Regions from separate parts of the Homo sapiens genome. Here regions 2, 3, 4, 5, 6 and 7 are each linked to region 1. Evidence: promoter capture Hi-C in 16 types of primary human blood cells and fetal thymus (Javierre and others, 2016). All regions are on one chromosome and are shown on one strand. Each heading gives the region's core, a stretch centred on a gene start or on the middle of the fragment in contact. The rest is flanking DNA. Distances are from core to core; before and after follow the strand shown.

The links. The method cuts DNA at HindIII sites, captures the fragments that hold promoters and counts their contacts. A CHiCAGO score of 5 or more calls a contact.
Region 2: a contact is called between a fragment that was not itself captured here and the fragment with the promoter of ROPN1 in region 1, in 3 of 17 cell types (M1 macrophages, M0 macrophages and endothelial precursors). The highest score is 7.0, in M1 macrophages.
Region 3: a contact is called between a fragment that was not itself captured here and the fragment with the promoter of ROPN1 in region 1, in 5 of 17 cell types (endothelial precursors, M1 macrophages, M2 macrophages and 2 more). The highest score is 7.9, in endothelial precursors.
Region 4: a contact is called between a fragment that was not itself captured here and the fragment with the promoter of ROPN1 in region 1, in 1 of 17 cell types (endothelial precursors). The highest score is 5.1, in endothelial precursors.
Region 5: a contact is called between a fragment that was not itself captured here and the fragment with the promoter of ROPN1 in region 1, in 1 of 17 cell types (M1 macrophages). The highest score is 7.0, in M1 macrophages.
Region 6: a fragment that was not itself captured here is called in contact with the fragment with the promoter of ROPN1 in region 1 in 3 of 17 cell types (M0 macrophages, naive B cells and endothelial precursors); the score reaches 5.4 in M0 macrophages.
Region 7: a contact is called between a fragment that was not itself captured here and the fragment with the promoter of ROPN1 in region 1, in 1 of 17 cell types (endothelial precursors). The highest score is 5.2, in endothelial precursors.

What each region holds. Positions count from the first base shown.
Region 1 is chr3:123,990,144-123,993,678 of GRCh38, reverse strand. It overlaps ROPN1 (rhophilin associated tail protein 1), which reads left to right and starts at 1,555. Exons shown (of 6, transcript NM_001317774.2): 1 at 1,555-1,757. RefSeq lists an enhancer at 1,267-1,783. The HindIII fragment of the contact is 3,137 bases long and covers 162-3,298 here.
Region 2 is chr3:124,487,547-124,491,081 of GRCh38, reverse strand. It overlaps KALRN (kalirin RhoGEF kinase), which reads right to left. Exons shown (of 60, transcript NM_001388419.1): 29 at 2,767-2,878; 30 at 198-388. Among named protein-coding and RNA genes, the nearest start is that of MIR6083, 110 kb to the right of the region's middle. RefSeq lists an enhancer at 1-402. The HindIII fragment of the contact is 5,495 bases long and covers 1-3,535 here.
Region 3 is chr3:124,461,225-124,464,759 of GRCh38, reverse strand. KALRN (kalirin RhoGEF kinase) reads right to left here. Exons shown (of 60, transcript NM_001388419.1): 24 at 2,804-2,870; 25 at 2,127-2,236. Among named protein-coding and RNA genes, the nearest start is that of MIR6083, 89 kb to the right of the region's middle. The HindIII fragment of the contact is 4,372 bases long and covers 1-3,535 here.
Region 4 is chr3:124,432,023-124,435,557 of GRCh38, reverse strand. KALRN (kalirin RhoGEF kinase) reads right to left here. Exons shown (of 60, transcript NM_001388419.1): 17 at 1,033-1,251. Among named protein-coding and RNA genes, the nearest start is that of MIR6083, 59 kb to the right of the region's middle. The HindIII fragment of the contact is 4,450 bases long and covers 1-3,535 here.
Region 5 is chr3:124,400,053-124,403,587 of GRCh38, reverse strand. The region is part of intron 13 of KALRN (kalirin RhoGEF kinase); the gene reads right to left. Among named protein-coding and RNA genes, the nearest start is that of MIR6083, 27 kb to the right of the region's middle. The HindIII fragment of the contact is 165 bases long and covers 1,675-1,839 here.
Region 6 is chr3:123,650,269-123,653,803 of GRCh38, reverse strand. The region is part of intron 24 of MYLK (myosin light chain kinase); the gene reads left to right. The region is part of intron 1 of LOC124909421 (a long non-coding RNA gene); the gene reads right to left. Among named protein-coding and RNA genes, the nearest start is that of MYLK-AS2, 38 kb to the left of the region's middle. RefSeq lists enhancers at 1-92, 3,221-3,535. The HindIII fragment of the contact is 2,795 bases long and covers 484-3,278 here.
Region 7 is chr3:124,305,452-124,308,986 of GRCh38, reverse strand. The region is part of intron 6 of KALRN (kalirin RhoGEF kinase); the gene reads right to left. Among named protein-coding and RNA genes, the nearest start is that of MIR6083, 67 kb to the left of the region's middle. The HindIII fragment of the contact is 4,472 bases long and covers 1-3,535 here.

The DNA of each region.
Region 1 (3,535 bases), core at 306-2,805:
ACAAATGCCAGCAGAGTGGCCTCTTTACAAATGGATGACAACAGGCTGTGAAAAGCTTTCTGCATGCGTAACCCAAAAATCTAGTTCCCCCACTTGTTCACTGATGCTTAAAATTGCTTTAGGGAGAGACAAAGGCTTTCATCTCACAAACAGAGAAAGCTTTGAAGGGCCTGGGTGAACTAATCTATTTAGACTAATACACACTGTTGTATAAATGGAATGAAGGATTAGATGATGCAATGGGCCCCTTTAAAATAGGTGTGAAGTGACACGGGATGTAGCAGAGAAAGATGGGGCTTTTCTTGCCTCCTTGGGTGCTTAAAACGAACAGTCTTGAGACCAGGTGCGGTAGCTCAAACCTGTAATCCCAATACTTTGGGAGACCAAGGCAGGTGGATCACTTGAGCCCAGGGATTCAAGACCAGCCTGGGCAACATGGCAAAACCCCGTTTATAAAAATATAAAAATTAGCCTGTCATCGTGGCAAGCACCTGCAGTCTCAGCTACTTGGGAGGCTGAGGTGGGAGGATTGCTTAGACCTAGGAGATTGAGGCTGCAGTGAGTCATGATTACCCCATTGCACTCCAGCCTGGGCAACAGAGCAAGACCCTGTCTCAAAACACACACACACACACACACACACACACACACACACACACACACACACACACAGTCTTGAAACCGGAAGACCTGGAGTAAAGTTGGGCCCTGAGCCCTACTGCCAGCTGTTCGATCACAGGCAAAATTACTCGAAGCCTTGAGCCTGTTTTTTATTTCCAAAGCGAAGGTAATACCTACCTTCAGAGTTTACTGTGAAACTTTGATGTCATCATGTTTGTAAAAGTGCCCTGGCACAGTGACCACATTCTACCCTATAAATATTTTCTATCTTTCCCTGTTGTCCCCAGGCATCTCAGGCTCTGTTCCTATCCACTCCATGCCCCTTTCTTAGCATTATAAGGTCAAGAGTGAGGAATCTGGGACCACGCAACCCAGATTCAGATCCTGACTCTGTCACTTGCTGACTGTCATCTTGGACAAGTTTAACCTCTCTGTGCTCAGTTCCCTCATCTGTAAAAATGGGGATAACAATAGTACTTGCCTCATGGGGTGACAGTAAGGATGAAATGAGTTCATGTGTGTAATGCACTTAGAACAATTCCTGGCACCAAAAACTCATTGTAAGAAGTGTTGTTACTATGATTCCTGAGGAATTCTCACCTGTCCACTTTCCACAAGCCGAAAGATCAAGCTCCACTTCTGCCCTCTCACCTACAAAAGCGCACCGTCAATGGCTACACATTCCGCCCCACCCCCAACGCCCCCAGCCCGGGTTTCCTAACGTCCCCAGCCCAGTCCTTAACCCTCCAGGCCGTCTGGTCCTTCCACCACCAGCAAAGCCCAAAACAGCTTTCAGCGTCCCCTAGCAGCGCCCTAGCGGGACCCTGGGAACCCGCCGCTGCAGGAGAGGCGGGGCGGCTCTGTGACGTCGCGCCCGGCGCTACCCCTGGTGACCTGGCAGCGGAGCCCGCGCAGGGTTTGCCAGGCGAAGGCGGAGCGCTAACGTCTAACGCTAACGGCGGTCGTGCCCCGCCGCTGCTGTCACCCCCGGCCGCTGCTGCCCTCCCCGCCGAGGTTCTACTGCTCTCCTTCTTAAGAAGGGTGGGAGGCACTCGGTCTCTCCCCACACCTCTCGCCTGAGGCCAGGCGCCAGGTGTCGCCTGAAGCCAGACAGCCGGTTTGGGAGCGAGCCTGAGGTAGCCACCCCGAGGGGAAGTGGAGGGAGGGCAGGGCTCTGAGCGCCCCGAGGGCTGCGCTGGTCTGAGGGAGGAGCCCTGCCGGACGCCCCCTGGATTCTGAGCCTCTCCTTGTTCACAGGGCAAGGGGAAGGCAAGGGGATCTTCAAGAGAATGTGACTGTGGGGGATTATGGCTTTCTGGCCAATTTGTGTGCGTATTTTGTACCCAGAATACTATTATACGGTTTCTTACCCGGAGGACAGTGGTTGGGAGGCTCAAGAGTTTGGAATCAGAGCCCTCCACCGAGGAGCCACACCTCTGCTTTTTCATCAGCGACAGGGATATAAAAATACCTCTGGGTGAATTGTCATGTGGATGTCATGGGCATACCTAGCACTTCATAGACTCCTATCACACATTATTTTATACCTAGCACTTCATAGACTCCTGTCAGGCATTATTTTATACCTGGCACTTCATAGACTCCTATCACATATTATTTTATACCTAGCACTTCATAGACTCCTATCACGCATTATTTTATACCTAGCACTTCATAGACTCCTATCACGTGTTCATTTTATAGCTAGCACTTCATAGACTGCTATCACGCATTCATTTTTACTAGTACCTATTGAACACTAAGTTCCAGGCACTGGGCTAGGCACTGGGATGGTGTGGTGAGCAAAAACTGACCAGTCCTGCCGTGGAGTTTGCTGGGGGAGACACATGTTACTCAAAGAATCACACTAAGGATAGGTAAGTGATGCTCTGGAAGGGTATGTACAATGGAACTGACAGGGTAATCAGGGAAGGTTAAGCAGACCTCCAAAGGAAGAATCAACCTGTTAAGAGGAGGAGAATGTATTCCAAACAAGAGTAACCACATCCCAAACCCACCATCTCCAATTCCAAACCCAAACAGGGATGTGCAGTTGCCTGTGCTTGGTTCCAAGTGATACTCATAGAAACCCTCTGAGATTCTGCCCTGGAGCCTTTCATTCATGTTACTGGAGACTTTCATTTATGAAACGGAAGCCCTGTTTAGCCCATACCAATAAAACCAAGTGAGAGATCCCTGAAACAAGGCTATAGTCTATTTTAAGACCTACATTCTTCAGCACTTGGCAGGTATATGTTGGCCTCCATTTTACATTGAGAGGCATGTAGGTTTCACTTAGGAGGAAATGCATTGAATTGAAAGAGTTGGGGTTATGGATAAGCTCTGGAATGTATAATTGAAGAAGACCTACACTATCAAGAGATTTAAAAATGGAAAATAACTTTACAAAATGTTAGAATTGAGGAATGTTAAGATAGAATGGACCTTTCTCCCACTTCTTTGATGTGAACAAATGACCCTTATTGCCCAAAGGCAGGAAAGCTGGGCTTTGGTGCCTCTTCAACTCAGAGAGTCTATGATTTCAACTCTGTGATTCAAAAGTGCATGGAACTCCTGAAAGTAAATGGGAACATGGGGGGATAATTTGACCTGACCCTCCTTTAGTGTTTTCTATTTCTACAAGGGTACCACCACTGTGCACCCAGTCATCCAAGCTTGAAAACTGATAGTCACTCTAGACTTTTCTGTCCTTCACCTCTTCCTCCTTCTCCACCTTCTCTTCTTCCTCCTCCTCCACCTCCTCTTTTCTTCCTCCTCCTCCTCCTTCAGTAGTTACCAAATCCTGTAGATCCTATCTCCTAAATACTTGTCTCTTATATCACTCCCTATTGCAACTACTTTTCAAGGCAGTGAAGCTCCTGGGAGTTGTCAAAAGTGCTGCCATATTCTCCTA
Region 2 (3,535 bases), core at 455-2,954, 500 kb before region 1:
AAGAAGAACTGTGAACTCTACAATGCAGACGTGGGAGGTGAGTGGGGTGCTTTCCAAATAGGAGACATTTTCATTTGTCCAGGATGGTTTTGGTGTGGAGGCCGGGGAGGAGATGAGATGAGTGTGTCCAGATCCCTTCCTGCCCATGGGTTCTATGAAAGCAGGGAGTCTTGTCTTACCCCACCTGCCCCACCTACCAGTAGCTTGTTCTTGTAAACATATTTCGTGTGTCCTGAAGAATCTTTGATCTCCTTGCTAAAAACCAAGGAGATCTCAAAGAGGAACAAGTGCCGCTCCCGCCCCTTCCGGATCAGCGACTTCGGGTCCCACACTTGAAAGGCATCCTGGAGAATCAACTCCCCCTGCACATCCAGGTTCTCGTCGAACCCTGAAAAACATCCATTTCCACCCTGTGGAGTTTCTCTACTGCCACAGTCAGGGGGCCATGTTCCACCCCCCTCTTGGAGAAAGGCCTCTCTTATTGTTAGTCTTCAGTTACTGAAGGGTTTTTTTCTCTCTGCTAACTCCAGAGACTGCTGAACACTTCCATAGACATCTCTGAGAATTGCAATTAGATCTCTCCTGCCCCCTTCCTGCACCATGTCTTTTATATACATAACCAATATTAGTGGAATCTCCTGCAAAGGTCCTATGCAACCTCACACCTTCACACACCCACAGTTGGCCTCCTGCAAGGGCAAATCCCATAGCTCCTTTGTCCTCCACAACTTTCTACTGTTCCTGACTTGTAGCTATGAGTGGGGTTGAGGACAAACACTGCCTGACTGAGTGTCTTCAGCTCCTCTTTATGTGTCATTCATTACCTTAATTCTTCTTATTATTATTTTTTATTTTTTTTGCAGTGGCATGATCGTGGGTCACTGCAGCCTTGAACTCCCAGGTTCAAGTGATCCTCCCAGCTTAGCTTCCCAAGTAGCTGGGTCATAGGTACATGCCACCATGCCCAGGTAATTTTTGTATTTTCTGTAGAGACAAGGTCTCCCTATGTTGCCCAGGCTGGTCTTGAGCTCAAGTGATCCTCCCACCTTGGCCTCCCAAAGTGTAGGATTATAGGCATGAGCCACTGTGCCTGACCTACCTTAATTCTTATATTCCATTTCTAGAATTCCTCCCTTTGATTACTTTGCACAAGCCTTCAACAGTTTATATTTATACCACTTGAAGTTTTTAAGAGATGCTCTCAAACTTTACTGTGCATAAGGATCACCTGGAGAGCTTGTGAAAACACAGATTACTGCCCACCCTCCAACCTCCCCAGATATTCTGATTTAGTAGGTGTGGGGTGAGTCCATGAATGTGCACTTCTGACAAGCTCCCAGGTGCTGTTGCTGCTGCTGGTAAACAGACCATGCATGGAGTAGCTGGATCCAGAGCATAGGTCAGGGACAGACTGGAGGAGCTGGGTACTTGCAGGTACTTCCAGGGTGGGGTGGAGGGGAAGGTACAAACAGAGAGGAAAGGAGTGGAGAAAAATGTCAACAGGAATACATTGAGATGGTTCCTGCTCAGCCTAGGGAAAATAGCCAGGGCTCCTTTGCTCTAAGAATTGAGGCTTCTGGTGCTAAGGATGGTCTGGGAAGTATGGAGACCGTATCAAGTCTCCCAAGGTGGTGTTGGTGGTATTGGCGGAGTAGGATGGAGTCCAGAAGAGAAAAAACAGCCCACGTGTTTACATATTTGCAACAGACTATACACATTTCCTTTAGCACCCATTAAAAATGTTAAGTCTTTTTGTTTGTTTGTTTTTGTTTTTTGAGATGGAGTCTTGCTCTATCGCCCAGGCTGGAGTGCAGTGGTGCGATCTCAGCTCACGGCAACCTCTGCCTCCTGGGTTCAAGCGATTCTCACACCTCAGCCTCCCGAGTAGCTGGGATTACAGGCATGCACCACCACCCCTGGCTAATTTTTGTATTTTTAGTAGAGACGGGGTTTCGCCATGTTGGCCAGGCTGGTCTGGAACTCCTGACCTCAGGTGATCCACCCACCTTGGCCTCCCAAAAAAATGTTAAATCTTAACTCATCTAACAAATTCCACCCCAGTATGGCTGCTCTGCCCACTCATTCTGCAGTGTTAAGACCACTTTATTGGAATCTTACTCTACAGGTTTCTGGTCCCAAGAAGATAGCTTCATCTGACTGAAGTCTTATCAGAGTTGTTTGGCTGGACTTACTAACCTTCTAGAGGACAAAATGCTGGTTGCACAAGAATGTGAATGTATTTAATGCCACCGAACTGTACATTCAAAAATGGTTAAAATGGTAAATTTATGTTATACATATTATGTATATTTTACCATAATAACAAAAAAAGAGCATAAGGCTGAAGATGGTATGTTTTGTGTGTATGTGTGTCTGTGTGTGTTTATGTGATCAGGCTTTCTATTCATTGTGATGACCAAGGCAATGTAATGCAGATGCTATGCAGACTAACAAGACTGCTGTAGGTTGGAAGCTCTAGCACATCAACAGTGAGGGTGATGGCCTGTCCTGGACTGTCTCATGGGCAGCAACATGTCCACATAACCTCCAGTGGCTTAGGCCTGGTCCTTCCTAGAAGCAGGGTGCTAGCCAAATTGGTCCTTGTGGAGCCCCTCTCACATGACAAGGGCCTATGTAACTACTTGTCATTTCTTCTCTCTTCCAGCCTTGCACCTTGTCTAACTTCATGCCACTTCCCTCCCATGATACAAGCTCCCCCGTGTCAAGGAAGAGAGGAGGCTTCCCCAGTGCTGGGAGGACAGCTACCTTCCAGCATGCTGACATGCATGGCATCATTGGCTTTCTTTGGGACACTGAGCATCACCTCCAGGCCATCCTTGAGCTCCCCTTTCCCTTCTTCACAGCAAGTTAAAAGTTCCTGGGGAAAAAAAAGTCCGGACATAATTAGGGCCATCTCCCCCAGCTTCCTCCCACCACCTAACCCAGCAAGGAAATTATAGACCAGCTTCGCTCTCTGTAATGGTTCCCTCTGAGCTATAAAGAAAGTGAGGTGGGGTAAAAGGGGTTATCTCTAAGAATTCAAGCACTATTTTTCTCCCACACTGAGCATTCTCAGCCCAATCTAGCCCAAACTAACTCAATCCAACCCAACTCCCAAATGGCTTGACCTGTAAGGCAGCAACTGAGGCATTCTCTGTCACTGGACTGCCCTCTTAGAGAAGGGACTACCCTGGCAAAGCACGTGAACAGAGGTGCAGTATTGTATAATCCAATAAAGAGAATAAAGAGAAGAATGAGGAGGATAAAGGGAAGATAAAGAGTGTGCTATGCAGTACCCAAATATCCCTGCATGCTTACTGCTGACACCACTTTTATTTACAAGCCTCTACAGCCTGAATGCTGACTTCCATCCCACTGGGAACAACTTGAGGTTGGAGACTTAATAGGCTTATGACATCCCAGAGTAATAAAATATTTTTAGATCATATGGATCAGGAGTTCCTAATCTGGGGCCAATAGATGGGCTTCTAGGCTATTTCATTGTCAGATGAGGTAAGTGCGATTAAGAGAGATG
Region 3 (3,535 bases), core at 586-3,085, 470 kb before region 1:
ATAGCTGTGGGCTTACAAACTATATAATCAAGAGGTAAAGAGGTTGTTAGGGAGGATAGAAAGATGCTTCTATGAAAAGACAAGAACTTAATTTTTGTGGCATCTTCTCTGGTTGTTGAGAGGCTAGTTGTTATTTTCTTTTTCTTTCTTCATAATATTCTAACTCGATAATATGTGCTGGGTAGCTGTGTTCTTGATAGTTGGATTTATTCCTCGATTTACAGCATGCGAGATTCTCTATGGTTTAATTTGATTTTTTAAAAGGATTTCTTAGAACTATATATTGTAACTGGTAGGTAGATTTTCAGCTATTTAGAAAACTACAAAACTGTTTACCATGGTTTACCAGTGATATCATGACAGCAGAATAAGAGGCATGATTATGTTAGCTATTTTGTTACAAGTGATCAATTTGGAAATGTATATTCATTCCCCTTATAAACTGATTGGCAAATGTAGGGCTCCCAGAAAGTGCGTGCTGTGATCTCTAGGCTTCCGTAGTTAGTCAATTGGCTAAGAACATGGGGAAAGTGAGACTTGTTGAGTAAATCCCAGAGACCATAAGCCAGAAAAGTAAGGTAACACGACTTACCGTTTGCCAGTCCGATGTCTTCTCAGATATCCTGAGGGAGATGGGATGATACTGAGCTGGGCTCAGATGATGGAATTTGGGATCAATGGTCAAATAGTTTTATTGGGCTCTTATCAGTGATAAGCATGAGGACATGATATTTCTACATCTGGAAATTTCCAGACAAACCAAATGGATCGTGTTAAAATTTATGATTAAAAAAACAAAAGACTGGGAACTTATATCACATATTCCAGAAAGTCAAACAGTTATTTTTCCCCCAGAGCGTATTGCTTCAATAATCTCACAAGGTTTGCATGCCATGGGAGCTACATATATTATGTTCTCTTTAAACTGATGCCATCTGATGACATACCAGGAATTAATAACCAGGAGGTGAAGAGAGAGGAGTGACTTTCCACCCCTTATCTGGACCTATTACAGCCCAGGATCATTTTACACCCAATTCTTGCTTGCCTCTTGGTCATTCTTAGCACAGGGCTATTCTAGAGCTGAGATATCGAATATGGCAGCCACTTGCTACTTGTGGTCTATTTAAATCTGAATCTATTAAAATTAAATAAAATTGAAAATTCAGTTCCTCAGTAGCACTAGCCACATTTCAAGTGTTCATTAGCCACACATATCTAGTGCTACTGTATTGGACACTGCAGATATAGAACATTTCCATCATTGCAGAAGGTTCCATGGGACAGTGCTATTCTGGAGTCTTGCCTCAGGGTGGCTGCTACACCTGTACACATGGCCCTTCTATCTCCAGCAAACCTACACAACTCAGTAAATGCCTCTGCTAGCCTGGCACAGCACTGCTCTGCAGCAGGGTCCTGAGAGCTCTAAGACTTTATGCCCATGTTCTTCTTTGTGTCTTGAGATTCTATTTGTATTTTGGAAACACAGTTATTTCTATTGGTTGGTTATGTAACTTATCATGCCAATTTTTTTGCTGATCCTTTGTTAACCATGGAACATGCTGTTTTGTATGGTGTGGGAAAAATTCTTAAATCAAGTTGGAAACAATGACTTGTGAAGTTTTAGGGCTCTACAATTCTACTTATTCCAACAAAACAGAGTATCGGTTGATATCCTTCCCTCCAAACTGTCAAGAAATGTGAAATAAAATGAGGATGGAGGAAATATTTAGGTTGATAGAAAACTTCAATGGAATTCAAAACCTAAAGATCACAAGGTGGAATGGTTAGCCTCAGATGAATTCTAACGTCAGGATTTCCCACAAGATTTAATGAGGAGAAGCTACTTTTATTTCTTCAAAGCCTGCTATTCATTCTGGCTGAATAAATGAGGATGTTGAGGAGAGATGGGGAGGAGCACTGCTGAATACTTGACTTTACTCTCCACTAGGACTTTCGGACAATTATGGAGAAAGGGGAGTGAGTAAAAAAGAAGTCTGACAGCAACTGCCTTAGAAAACTGACCAGATAAGATTCACCAATCGCCTTTGATCCACTTCTTGGGAACCCTGTTGTCTGGTTTTTACGGCCTAAGTGTGCACCTCTGAGACCCTCCACAAACCTACTTGTTATGGAAATCGTAGATCTCTTGGATGTTGCCAAAGATGATATGCTCTTTATTGAGGATCCCAGGGGGGATCTCCTCCACACCACTGGTCATTTCCCACAGGTAGGTCTGTAAGACAGTAACAGTTTCATCACTGGCAAGTCTGGCAGGCCATATAAAATACAGACAAAATACACAGGTGCTCAAACTTGTGGGGCAAGACTCAAACTGTAAATGCGTGCAGAGTTTAAAAAGTGACGTGTTAAGTAAACATAAGAGAAAGAAATAAAACCTGAATATTTCATTATCCTGAACTTTAGCAAGAACACAAACTCCACAGTCTCTTGTCATTTATTAAATGTGTGTGGACTTTTATGGGGGTCAGGATGCAGATTTTCAGACCCAATTTAAGTTCACTGACTGTGTCATGGTTTTATTTTGAATTGAAGTGCCTTACACACTTCTTGTTCCTGGGTCTAGCTCCAGTCTGAGAAAAGTTTAAACTTTCTTTTCAAAAGTACTTTAAACTCTCATGTAATTATTGTTGACTTTAGGAGAAAGATTTCCTCTTGTTGACTTTTTAATTCATTACTCTCTGGGAGAAGACCAATAGCACCAAATTCCAATTGAGGACTTGATGCTGGCAAGGATGTCATTTTTCCAATATAGCTGTGAACGGATTACTGGAAGACTCACCTCTAAGCACTCATGCAAATCCCTTACATAAGCCTTCTCTGTCTGGAGTAGTTCAGCCATAATAAATCTAGAAGGAAACAAATGGGCTTTTACTTGGATATAGATATAATGTCTCTCCTCCTTCAAACTTCACTTCCCCACCCCAGCATGTATGACATTCTTAAATGTCTTATTTTTCTACTTCATCAACAGGTCTTTTCCTTTCTTCAAAATTCCTTCCCTTTCCTACAAGTATCTTCCTATGATACTTGTGATATTTCCTGACCATTGGCCCTGTAACCCTTTAGCAGGTTTGTGCTCAGCTAGGTCCATATTCTCTCTCCCTTTTCCACCCCAGTCCTACTATTAATACTTGTGATTCTGTGGTGATATTCATGTGAGTACAGGCATGTAGGACTGTTCATATTCTGTCTCACCAACTAAACTAGATAGCTTGAATCTCAGCTTTCCACATTTCTCCTACAGCTCCCAGAATGAAGATTTCTGTTCAGTAGAGTTTGTAGATATATACCAAAACAGTTCTTAGTATCATAATAAACCAGGTTTCAAAGCCAGGAAAAGAGGTCCAACACACCGAGATCAGGGGTTAGCAATTTTTCTATAAAGAGCCAGATAATAAATCTCTGTGGGCAATTCGGTCTCTGTCACAACCACTCAACTTTGCTGTTGTCATGTGAAAGGAGCCATAGACAATGTGTAAAAAAAAATAAGTGTGGCTGTTTTCCAATAAAA
Region 4 (3,535 bases), core at 723-3,222, 440 kb before region 1:
TTTCTACCAGGGAACAATTCAGAGAAGGAAACTACTATACACTGAGTAAAATTACTCCTGTTTTAAACCTGTTTCATAAAAAGAATTCCCTAACAGCACCCAAATCATTTTAAAAATCCTCTTAGCCCTGTGCATATTGCTGTACAGATGAAAGGGTAACACACTGCATCGTTATGGCCCTACTGTCCAGCTCCTGCCTTTTCTCCCACAGCAGCATCATCTTATCTGGTGTGTTTCTAGTTCCCTAATGACAGAGAGCTGTGTTTCCTCCATTAGACTGGGGGCCCAAGGAATGAAAGAACCATGTGTTTTTCAAGTAGTGCATAATGCCTAACTGTGGTAGATTTAATTATTGTTCAGCAACTATTCATTCTCCTCTCCCAACCTTCATAGGAGGCATTGCTGCCTCACTAATGTTGGCTTGGCCATGTGACTTATTTTAGCCAATGAGATGAAAGAGAATATGACACAAGCAAAGACTTGAAATGCACTTGTATGGTAGATTTTGGACTCTTGCATTCCTGCCTTTAACTATAAATGTGCCTGAGATGGCTTCAGGTCAAGGAGGACAAGAGACATGGGAACAGATCTAGACCCAGTCTGCAGCTCGAAGCCTAGTTCTACCAAGTTCAGCCAAAATCAACTGAACCTAAGACACTTAAGAAAAAAATAAATGTTTATTGTTTTATGTCACTGAGTTTTGGATTGTTTTGTTACACAGCACTATGGTGGTAACAGCTGACTAATATACTGCCCAAATCTAGCATTTAGTATACACCCAATTTCTATTTCAACACCTCCCTATAGATCTGGTGAGTTTCAGAAATTTATGAGACAAACCCCATAGTCCAGTGCTCAAATGGAAAGGATGATAAGAAAGTCAACTGTGGTGTTTCCACAAACTATTCTTCAAATGTTAGTACTGAAAGGACAGGCTTCTCGCTGACATAAGCACTGCACATTTACACTGCAAGGCAGAAAATGGCCCCCTGGCAATCTCAGCCCCACAAGCCCCACAGTCTTTTCCCTCACCTGTTCAGAAGTTTTGTAAAAGGCCACAGAGGCATTGACCAATTTTAGCCGGTCTTCCATCTTCAGCATGAGCTGCTGCCAGTGGAGGGCCACCTTCTCAGCACATTCCCGGATGGCATCGGCATCGTAGTGGCCGGCCTGGAGCAGCACCTCGGCTTTCTGCTGTACCTGCAGGGCACTCTGGTGCGTCTTCTGCAAGGAAGTGGCATGAAAGAGGGACTGGGCACAAGGAGAGGAGAGAAAGGTCCGTGGGAACAACCCAGGCGTGGTATGGGAGGGGGTGGAGTGAGGCGTGAGTGAAAAGATGCAGAGAAGTTAAAGAGCTTTAAATGACTGATCCATTTTGTCATGACCATTAATACATTATTATTTTTAAAGCATATTTAAAAAAAGAATATCATACATTTTTATTAGCTAATCTCTCACGACCCTAACTCCTGTCCCCACTTCTTTCTTTTTCCTTGCAGCACTCTAGATTTTAAGGACATTTCAGTTTCTGTAGCAGAGAAACAGAAGTTATGTATCAATCTGCTCACTAATTGGTTCATAAATTTCCTTTACAAATAGAATAATAAAATTGTACATTGAGTTTTCGAAGGAGGTTACTACTGCAGTCCCATTTTACAGATCAAGTATAGACAGCACATGAAAAGAAACTTCATGTAACACAAATCTCAGCTAACAATGCAATCATTTAAAACATTAATAATCAGTTGAAAAAGATTCCAGTTGAAGGAATAAATTTGGCAGGTTAATAAAGCTAGAGAGTAACCTCCTACATCATCCCTTAATTACTTCACTGGGGGGCATAACAGTGCAGGAGATAATTCACTTCAATACATAATCCCCATGTTATTTACATATCCCTTGAGGAGATACATATATATGTAGAAGGTCTATTTTCTTTCCTTTTTTTTTTTTTTTTTTTTAGACAGGGTCTTGATCTATCACCGAGGCTGAAGTGCAGTGCAATGGTGCAATCATGGCTTGCTGCAGCCTTGAACTGGGCTCAAGCAATCCTCTTGCCTCAGTCTCCAAAGTAGATGGATAGCTGGGACTACAGGTGTGTGCCATCACACTTGGCTAATTTTTCACTTTTTGTAGAAATGGGATCTTGCTGTCTGCCCAGGCTGGTCTCAAACTCCTGGCCTCAAATGATCCTCTGCCTCAGCCTCCCAAAGTGCTGGGATTACAGGCAAGAACCACCACATCTGACCAGAAGTTCTTTTTTTTTTAATCCTTTTTATTTATTAACTTTTTATTTACTTTTTTACTTTTTATTTTTTATTAACTTTTTTATTTTCCCTGATGGAACCCAGGGTCCTTTCTTAGGGTTCAAGAAAGAAGTCAAATTATGCTCCCCACCAACAATCATTGTAAAGGCCTCTAGTAACACTGTCAAAATGGGTTAAGCCAAACCCAACTGCTTTCACTCCCTTTGAAATAGCTTATCTTCCCTGGCATATTTTCCTTCTGATGGAGAACCTAGTCTGAACTGAAACATTTAAGGAGAAGCACAGGCCACCTGGAGAAGGAGCATATGTTGCAATTCTGGTTCCGTTCCCTTCATTGTTCTAGGCAATGCAGACTCTGCCTACCTTTCATTCCCAATATCTTCTAGAAATCCTAACTGCTCTGCCATGCCCTCTCGAGACTAAGTGGCCTATATCTCAACATCAATTCCAAGAATATTTGATCAAGTTGTATCCAGATAGAAACCCAGAACTGATTAAGAGGTGTTTATGCTTAGTGAGCCTCTATTCTGTAAAGATGAAATGGTGTCTAACACAAATGAATACATATTGCATATGCAGTCATGTGGAATATAGTCATTTCAAGCACTGTGAATACATTTACCCATGCTTCCTCAAAAGCTCATTGAGATGCTTAAGTGTGTTATGACACTTGGTCTTACTTGGCCACCATTTGATTGAGGCAAACCTTTTCATTGAAGATAAAGAGGAGGTATGGCCAAGAGCTGTCTTCATTCTGCCCAGCATGCCTCATAACTGTGCTATACCTCTAATCTGATCGCTCAGCCTTCATTTTCTTCGTTGCTGCTTATGACTGTGGGAACTTGACTGCTATGTGCCCAATTCTTTTTTTGTTTTTGAGACAGGGTCTCACTCTATTACCCAGGCTGGAGTGCAGTGGCGCAATCTCAGCTCACTGCGACTTCCACCTCCTGGGTTCAAGCAATTATCCTGCCTCAGCCTCCCGAGTAGCTGGGATTACAAGTACCCACCACCATGCCTGGCTACTTTTTTTTTTGTATTTTCAGTAGAGATGGGGTTTCACCATTTGGCCAGGCTGGTCTTGAACTCCTGATCTCAAGAGGTCTGCCCATCTTGGCCTCCCAAATTGCTGGGATTACACATGTGAACCACCATGTCTGGCCCTGATTCTTGATTATAACCCCAATCCTGATTTTTTCTTTATAGTGAATACATGCTAACACTGTGATATTTCAGTGTGTCAGAAAGCTACAATAGAGACAGCTGAT
Region 5 (3,535 bases), core at 508-3,007, 410 kb before region 1:
CTTAGCCTGGCCCCTATTTGTTTTACATGAACCCCATAGATTTAGAATTGATATATCATTCCCTACTCAAATAAACTTTCAGGTGCATTAAGCATACCTCGCTTGCAATTACACAGTTAGAGATTTAAAAGAAAAACCATAAAGGTGGCCCATATTTTCAGAAAGTCCCTTGTCTAGAATATCCTTCTTAGTGTCATTTCTAAGGCTTTCCAACATAAGTATGCCCATCTCAGAAAATGCCCCAAATTATCCAATGATGGTAGAAAAACTATCTTGATATAAATATGCATATATGTGTATATATATTATATTGTGCACATATATTTTATCAAGCCAATACAAAGTATATAAAATTTCCCAGGATTTTCATTAGTAGACTGGTGCTGGAGTCTCACTCTGACCACATGGCAGATGGCTTTGTGTAGTGCACGAAAAAGAGAGCTCCTCGGGGAAGGGGGGAAGGTAGGAGTGTCACAACTCAGTGGCTGACTGTGGCTCATTTGTTCATTGCTTTCAGCACATTTCAAATTATTGCTTTTTTTCATGTGTCCAGTTAAATAGATTTATCTACTATCTAGTTTTAACTAAACTAACCTTCACAAAAAGACACGTGGTTTAACGAGTTTCCTGCAAAGAAACTGCAGTTTGAAGATAATACCAATCATGAAAGCACAAGAGAACTTTGAATTCTCTGTCAGCCACATTATGGGGTAAGGCAACAATGACAATCTAATCTGATCTCTCAAGAAACCAGGCAAAAAATAATTGGAAATTATCAGAAGACTATTTGAAATATGGAACCCACAATTTCTAATGAAAAAACTAAACCTCTCCCAAAGAGCATGTTGAATTTTGAAATTATTAGGCAGTGACCGAACGTTTTTATAACTTAAAAATGAATAAATATTTATATGTAGGGGGTTGCAAGTTCAAAAAAATTGAGAAGGCACACAATCAAAAATGTTTGGAGACCACTGGCCTATTCTTGCTTCTAAAAATATTTTTCATTTCTTTCTGATTATCCTAATTGTATAAAACTTGGAAATGCAAGAAAGCATCAAAAATAAGAAAAAAAATCACCTGTATTCTTACCATCACAAAATAAACATTTGTATTTGGTGAAATGTCTCTTCTATCATAACTAGTTTATATAAAATGTCTTTCATAGAAGGAGGCTGAACCTAAAGGAAAAAAACGTTATAGAACATCATGTTCCACTATAGGTCACTTTGGTCTCCATGGAGTCCAAGAAGGTATACCAGGAATCCAGCTATGGGCCTGGTTTTGAACATCTGACTAACAAATTTAGGATGTTTCACTTTATGTGGGCATGCCCTATGATCTCATTCCAGGTTATAATGTGAGTACCATTATTATTGAGTACAAAGAGATTGGTGCAGCAGCTCATGTGCTATCCTAATGATTACATTAACTGGCTCATCTGGGCCCTCAGTGATATGGCTAAGGAGTCATGTTTAGATTCCTCAGATGCAGGGTAGCAGTCCTCCTCCAGTGTTCAGTAATCCTGAGGAATTTGGAGCATGTCTATCAAATGCCTTCCTTTAGGAAGGAAACCACACTGTAGGTCCTGTAATCACAGACCCTGCCCTGGCTTATGTCAGCATAAACACGCCTCTCGTTACAGAAACCACCCTCAGTTTCACACCAGAAGCTTCTCTAAAAGTTTGTTCTTCATCCCCACAGTGAGACATAGCTGGTATTTGAATAATCTCAACACCCTCAAAAATAACTTCTGACAATCTGACTTGAAGCAGAACTTTTCTATAGGTTTGGCAGGATTTCCAGTTCTAAGATTAGATGTAGCATTCTCCCCAAGCTTTTGGGCCTCCCCCACAAGACAAGGGAATAAGACCCCTTGTAAAATCCGGACGTTATAGCCTACACCAGAGGATGCAGGATCCTATCATGATTTTTCTCTCCCTCATTTTATGAGGCCCTCACACTCTTGCTCTCCTGCATACCAGGTTGTCCAGTACTTAGGGTGGGACGAGGAATTTTTATACATACAAAGGCTAAAGAATGCAAATCCAATAATTTATTTGTTTATTTTTTATTTTTTTCTGAGACAGGGTCTCACTCTGTCATCTAGGCTGGAGTGCAGTGGTGTGATCACAGCTCACTGCAACCTCCGCCTCCTGGGCTCAAGTGATCCTACCATCTTAGCCTCCTGAGTAGCTGGGACCATGGGTGCTCACCACCACACTCGGTTTTTGTTTATATTTTTGGTGGAGATGGAGTTTCACCACGTTGCCCAGGCTGGTCTTGAGCTCCTGAGTTCAAGTGATCTGCCAGCCTCAGCCTCCCAAAGTGCTGGGATTATAGGCGTGAGCCACCACCCTTGGCTCCATAATTTAAGTGTCAAGTTCCTCTCTCGTAACCTTTAAGCCAGATCCAATTTTAATGCATGTGATTTAAACCCACATTTTTTAAAGGATATTTTCTCCATATGCTTTGGATTGTTTTTTAGGAGTGGAACTTGATTTGCCTACAATCGATGCTAGTAAAGACACACTTGCGATGCCCCCAGCTGATGTGAGGGGTGTAGTCGATGTCAAAGTGAAGCTAACTGACCCATTCCAGCGCTGAACCAGCAACCCTGACTTCCAGGTCACAGCTATCTTTTCAAATAAAACTTAATCCAAACCCTCAGATTGTTTCCTCCCCCTTAAGCATGTTTTGAAGCAGACCTGGAATGACAGGAGAGTAAATAAGAAGTACAACAGCAAAACCACCACACCTGCTAACATAATTTCTCCATGGATATATTCTCTCCCAGTGGGCAAAATGGAGCTGAGGAATGATTGCAGGAATGCCTTGGGCTACTTTAATCAACTTAGCCTGTATTTATTTTTGTACATCTCAATCCATATTACTAAAGAATAATGACCCATACCCTCTCTTTTATCTCTTTATTACCTTGTTACCCTGCCTTTACAATGTTCACTACATACACTCTTCACTACATGTCAATATTTTTATTTTCCCACTGGCATTTTTATTGTTTTTCAAAATGTGTGTTGATACTACTTGCCACCTGAAATCCTGACAGTACATTCAAAATAAATAATAAATATAAATAAATTCTCCTAAGGTTATGAAATCAGTTGGAAGGATAGTTAAGGTCTAGATTTAAAGGCTTAACTTCTCCTTTGTTCCAGGACCTGTCCAGAAAGCACCTTTTAGAACATGAAGTCTTTAAGCAAGAAATTACAAGTTCTCCCAAGGAGGCAGGAGTACAGATGTGCTTGTAAGAGAGTAGGGGATAGAAAGATGAGTACCTTTATGATTGCTTTTCTTTTACATTTCAGATTCTCAATATGAACATTTTTGGACCTAGGATTAAAGCAAAGGGTAGCTGTTCCCAAGATAGTCTCTTGTACTGAGTTGGATTAGGATGGGATATTGGAGCTTTCGATATATTAAAAAAAAAATTCCTTCTAAAGCTGTTCCATTGAAGTTTCCGCAGATATTATTGGGAAGCTCACCAAACCCAGAAGCCCTAACTCCAGAGAGA
Region 6 (3,535 bases), core at 632-3,131, 340 kb after region 1:
GAGGGAGAGACTGGAGAATCCCCGACTAACCCCAGGCAGCAGGACCAGAGGCCACGGGAGCTACAAGGTGTGGCCCCCAGGGGTCTAGGACAGCTGCTCCCAGGGCTGTGTGGAGACTCTGCCAGGAGGAAGAGCTGTGACTGCCTGTCTGGGGCAAGTGGCCTCTCCCTTGTTCCCTGCCATCAGCCCGCTGAACCCTCTCTGGGCCTTCAGACTCCCCTCCCCTGCTGCCACCCCTCCCAGCTGGGAATAGACAAAGGGCAATGTTGAAATCACTTGAAATCCAGAGGAGGAGTCCAGTCCACCCAGGGCTTCCAGACAGGAAGCTACTCCCCAGCTGAGGCTGGCTGGATTACCAAGGGGGAGGAGGAAGAGGGCAGAACAGTTGGCAAGTGTTAGGCCTCAGGGCAGAGGACTCTGGTTGAGGGGATTCCAGGCAAAAGTCCTCCACGGTCTGCTCAGATGCTTGTTAGTTATAAAGCTTCATAGGCCATCCCTCTGCTGAAGAGGGAAATGGCTCTCAGGGAAGTGGCGTGTGTGTTCACGCACGTGTGTGTGTGTGTGTTGGCAGAGAGGTGGGATCAAGTGACAGGTCATTGTAGGTCATTTCTGTGGAGCAGATGGGGTGGGATCATATTAAAAAGGCAGTGCTGATTAACCCACACTCCATGAAGCCCGGCTAATGTTGGCTCTGACCTTCACCACTACCACCACAGCCACTGCCACTCCTGCCTCTCGCTCTTCTACTTCATTCTCATGCCTCATTTGCATCCCTGTTGGTACCCTAGCCCTCATCCCACATCCACTCACCATGTGTTCTGTGCCCCTCCTGTGTTCTAGGCACTGCCATGGGCACTGGGGATACACTGGGGGACAAAGCATGGGTTCCCCGTGGAGCTCCAGTGGCTTCTCTATGCCAGAGCCACTCCTAAGACTAGGGTCCCTGAACTGACAATGTACTCCCAAACCCAAGTGCACAGAGCCAGAACCTTACCACAGCCCCGCTCCCTCCCAGCCCAGCCAGGTCTTGAACTGTACTCCTCCTCAAATCCTGCTGTCACTCAAATCCACTCCATCCCTGCTCCTTACCCTAATTTGTTCTAGTCTGTATAATTGTTAGCAAAACAGCTACTGTGACTGAGGCTTCTTGCAGAACTGGAGCCTCCTTGCAACCCCCAGGACAGTTCGAGATATAAAGCCTGTACCGCTCCCATCCCAGGCTGCAGCTACGCCCTGGCCTCAGAGGCCGTCTCCGGGGCGGGGGTGCCCTCTAGTGTTCTCTGGGTGTGCAACAGTCCTTGGCTGCAGGAAGGGACAATTCTCTGTCCAGGGGACTGACTGGACTTGTGCCATGTGAGGGTCCTGAGCACTCAGCTGATCCTCTCCCAAACACTCCAGGGTAACGAGACTCTCATCTGTTTGCAGAAATATCTCAGAACCATCTTCCAAATAGCCTTCCACTTAGCTCATGGATCTCATAGCTCATTCTGAACAGATTTTTTTTTTTTTTAAGTTCAGTGGAAGACCCTTCCCTAGTGGAAAGATGGAAACCAGTTCACCTTTCTCAACAACCCTTTATGCACCAAGAGCTCTGCTAATTGAACTGTGGTCTTTCCTCTACTTCTCTCTCACTCCTCCCCTTGTGGTCAAATAGAAGAGAGGCAGGACAAGAAGGGAAAAGCAGAAGGGGATGTAGCAGCCTGGAATCTTTCTCTTTTTTAAAGAGATCGGGTCTCACTCTGTTGCACAGGCTGGATTTGAACTCCTAGACGCAAGCATTCCTCCCGCCTCAGCCTCCCGAATAGCTGGGACTACAGGCACTTGCCACTGCTCCCTGCTTAGTCCGGACTCTTGATCCGAGTTTCCTGCAGCATAAAGGAACACAGTGCACTAGAAAGAGGGGCTGGAATTCCTTGAGAATGATCTAGGTCCTTCCCCCAGAGCATTAGCATGAGAATCAGATCTGCCACAGACCTCTGGGGTGAGAGGCGAAGGTGAGGCATGGATGTGGGCTCATGAGTGAGGCCAGAGGCTGGCCCTGTGGCTGTCTACCTGGACTCACAGTGACAGGCAGGGGCCAGCTCTAGGACTGGATGCCCCCTTCAAGGCACGCAGGGAAAGCCTCCTGCTGCCGGGCCATTGGCAAGACTGCTTCTCCTGACACCAGGCCAGGAAAGCTGCCCTCTCCTTTCCCTCTCACTCTGCTGCTTGGAATACACTGGTCTCCATGCCACGCCGGGAAAATGTGGCACAGGAACAAGAAATAAAGGATGACTCAACTGGTGAACCACTATATCAGGCAGCAGCACCACAGGTCAAGACAGGGGCCTCCCTGACAGTAAATAGGATGATTCTGTGTCGAAGACCTAGTCCAGTGACTGGTCCACCTGGTGTCCCATCACTCATTGACTCCAATATTGTTGCTTCTCTTAAAACCCTGTTTATAATATCATCACTGAACTAACCTAAATGTCTATTGAACATACTTATTATTCTAGTGGTACTTCTCATGTGTGAGTTCCATATCCCTCCAGCCTTCCTCCTACGTGAGGTAGAACACTAAATGGTTCCCCCAAGATGCAGTAGTCATGAGTTGATGAAAAGTCTGAAACTCTCATCTCATCCTTGGCGATTGTGTGATTCTCTTTAAAGTCATGTCCATTTTAGACTTCTTTCCCAACCTCAGAGGCCTCACCTTTTCTGATTAAGACATAGCCCTTCCCTTCAGTGGTCTTGCTTGCCACCTCCAGCTCCATTGTGGCTTTTGGACTGCCGACAGCCAGAGCTCCAGGGCAGGCACCCAGGGCGCTCTCAACAGCTACCCAGTACTCACCCCTGTTTGGGGCCCATGCACACTTTGCCCTGTGACAGCATCTGACAGCCCAAGCAGTAGATTGAGGAGCTGCTGTTTCTGTCTTGGGTATTAACTATGGACTTTAGGGTTCACCACCCTAAAAGGTAGAATGATCAGATTCTCCTGAACACTAACTCCATTCCTGGCTTCTAGTTGCATTGCTCTCAGGTCATCCTTTCCACCTGTGAATTGGACAATGCCACTCTTAACTCTCCAACATGTGGATTTAGGAATATTGACCAGTTAGGCCCACATCCCGACAGTAACCGTGAAACCCACCTCTGATACTTCAGCTAGACTATCTGGGTGTCCCTGTCTATCTCATCCTTTTTTATTTTTCCATGGCAGCTTCCTTTCTGTGATAAAATATACTTTCCAATCCCATTCATGTTTAGTTTTAGTCTTTTTTTAAAAAAACTAAGCTTTGTCAGCAGCATTTTAAGAACTCTAAACACACTCACACTCACACTCACACCGGTACACCCGCACTCACACTCATATGCCCACTCTCTCTCACACACACACACATACACACACACTCACACTTTAAAAATCCTTTTCCTCCCTCTATGCTTTCTCTCCTGTCTTTGTTTTGCTTCCTTGGGAAACCTCCCATTCATTGTCCAGCTGTCAGCCAGGACGCAGCCCAGACGATGGCTGAGGAACACACAGCACATGACG
Region 7 (3,535 bases), core at 731-3,230, 310 kb before region 1:
CTCGTAAGGTAAGTAATAATATCCCCTCTTTCACTTCTGAGTCTAGTAATTTTTTTCATTGGTTGTTCTAGGTAAAGGTTTGTAAGTTTGGTTGACCTTTTCAATAAACCAGCTTTTGGTTTCATTAAATTTCTCTATTGTTTTCCTATTCTCTAGTTAATTTCTACTCTAATCTTTATTATTTCCTTTCTTCTGCTTGCTTTAGGTTTCGTTTGCTCTTCTTTTTCCAGTGTTTTAAAGTGGAAGTTTAGGTTATTGAGAACTTTTTTTTAGCTTTTTTAAGATAGGCATTACAACTATATGTTCTCTCTAAGCACAATTTTAGCTGTATCACGTAAGTTGTGGTATGATGTGTCAAAAATTTCATTCATCTAAAATTAGTTTCCAATTCTCCTTTTTATTTTGTCTCTTAGCTATTGGATATTCAGGAAGATGTTATTTAATTTCCACCTATTCGTGAATTTCTGAAATTCTTTCTGTTACCGATTTCTAATTTCATTCCATTGTGATGGGGTAAATATCTGGCATTATTTCTATCCTTTTTTATTTCATGAGGTTTGTTTTTTGACCTAGGATATGGTCTATTATGGACAATGTTTCATGTCCTGGAGAAGATTATATAGTCTGCTATTGTTGGATGGAGTGTTCTATAGATGTCTGTTGGTTCAATTTGGCTTATAGTCTTCTATTTCTTTGTTTAGGTATTCTATTTCCTTCTGCTAATTTGTTCCATCCATTATTAAAAGGGGGTATTGAAGTCTCCAATTAATACACTTGAATTGTATATTTCTTGCTTCATTTCTGTCAGTTTTTGCTTTGTGTATTTTGGTACTTTTTTGTTAGGTGTATATGTGCTTATAGTTGTTACATCTTCCTGATAGAGTGACATTCTTCTTCTTTAAAAAGTTGCTTTTTATCTTTAGTAACTTTTTGCTGTTCTTTTAAAATGCACTTAAGAATCTGTTATTAATATAGTCACTTGGCTATTCTTCTGATTGCTGTTTGCATAATACATGTTTTTCTATCCTTTTACTTTCCATCTATTTATATCTTTGAATCCAAAATGTGCCTCCTGTATACAGCAATTAGATTGGGTCTTATATTTTTTAAAAATGTTTTTTGACAGTGTTACTAACTGGATCTTGGTTTTTAAATCCAGTCTGACAATTTCTACCTTTGATTGGATTATTGAATCCTTTCACATTTAATGTCATTATTAATAGAGTTTATGTCTGCCATTTGACTTTTTTCTATATGTCTTTTTTATACTTCTATAACCCTGTACTGCTTTTTTTGCATAAGTGAGTATTTTGTAGTGTAGCATCTTGGTATCTTTACTGATTGATTTTTTTCACTATATTTTGGGAGTTATTTTCCTAGCTATTGCTCTAGGGCTTACCATATACACCTTATCAGAATCAGCTTCTACTGTACATTAACTTAATTCCAGTGAGACATAAAAATATTACTCCTATAGAGCTTTATTCCCTTTCCTCACATTTTGTCATATTTTATACATATTACATTTATAAATGTTACAAACCAAACATTAGATTGTTATAAGTATCACTTTCTGTAATTTTATGTCTTTTATAGAAGCTGAGACAAAAAAGGAGGATTACTATATATTTATAGCTTTTTTCATATTAGTCTTATTTATCATTTCTGAATCACTGTATTTGTTTCTGTGGATTCAAGTTATCATCTGGACTAATTTCCTTAGCCTACTACAAATTTGCTCCTACCAACCTCCTTTGTGCTATCACTGGAAAACATATTACATTTTTATGTTATAGGCCCAACAATACATTATGTACATATTATCTTATATGATTGCTTTTGAAATCAATTAAGAGAAAAAAGGAGAAGAAATGTGTGTTTATACTGTCTTTTATAGTCACATAATTACCTTTATCAGTGCTCTTTGTCTTTTGGTGTAGATTCAAATTACCATCAAGGGTCACTTGCTTTTAGCTTGAAAAACTTCCTTTATTATTTCTTATAAGGTGTATCTGCTAGAAACAAATTTTCTCAGTTTTTGTTTATCTCAGAATAGTTTTATTTCACCTTGATTTTTGAATGATAGTTTTGTTGGATATAGTATTCTTGGTTAACAGTTGTTTCCTTTGAGCACTTTTTAATATGTTGTCCTACTTCCTTTGGACCTCCATTGTTTCTGATGAGAAATCAGCTTTTAATCTTATTGAGGTTCCCTTGTAACAGAGAAGTCATTTTCCTCTTGCTATTTTTAAGGTTTTCCTTGTCTTTGGCTTTCAGTATTTTGCCATAATGTGTCTGCTTATGGATCTTCTTGAATTTATCCTACTTGGAGTTTCTTAAGCATCCTGGCCATAAATATTTTAAAATAAACTTTGAAAGATTTCAGCCACTATTTCATCTAATAATTTAATAATTTTTTTCTGTTTCTTCCTCTCTCTCCTCTCCTTTTGGTACTGCCATTATGCATAGCAGTTGGTGCACTTAATGGTGTCTCATGTTTTCCTGAAGCTCTGTACATTTGTCCTCATTCTTTTTTCTCTCTGTTCTTCATATTGCATAATTTCTATTAGTTTATCTTCAAGATTGTTAATTCTGTTTTTTCTTGTCAGTTCAAATCTACATTGAGCCTCTCTAAAAAATTTTTGTCTCAGTTATTGTATTTTTCAGCTCCATATTTCCTTTAAAAAAATAAGCCTCTCAGCCTGAGCAACATGGCAAAATCCCATATTTACAAAAAATGAAAAATTAGCTAGGCATGGTGGCATGCACCTGTAGTTCCAGCTACTCAGGTGGCTGAGGTGGGAGGACCGCTTGAGCCTAGGAGGTTAAGGCTGCAGTGAGCCATGATTGTCCCACTGCACTTCAGCCTGGGTGATAGAGCAAGACCCTATTTCAAAATAAATAATAATAATAATAATGTCTTTACTGATATTCTGTGTTTGATGGGGACATTGTAATTATGCTTTCATTTAATTCTTCAACTATGGTTTGTTTTTTGAACATATCTATAATAGCAATTTTAAGGTCTTTGTAAAATCTGACATCTGGTTGCTCTCACAGGTGATTTCTATTGACTGTTTTTTATTTTTTTTCTAGTACATATTTTTACTCCTTTTTTTTCCTGGTCATACTTTCCTGTTTCTTTGCATGTGTCATAATTTTTTTGTTGAAAATTGGACATTTTAGGTCATATAGCAGCAACTCTGGGTACTGGTCTCCCACTTCTTTTAGAGCTTGTTGTTGTTATTTGCTTATTTGTTTAGTGACTGGATTATTGAAATATTCCCACTCCCCCACAGCTCCACAGTAAGAAGACTCCAATGTTGCTCCCAGGGGGAGTACAGCATTGGATAGGCTCACAGGCACCCTGCAATGGCAGTGGCTTTGGCAGTGCTCTGATTTTCTTTCCCTGACCACACCCAGCTGGTACCAGATCTTGTACCAGGTTTGATTTTTCCTTGGTGCTGTCAATGGAATTTAATTCCATTAATTGCAAGCTGATTGCTCTATTGTTTTCAACAATGTACTGGGGCAT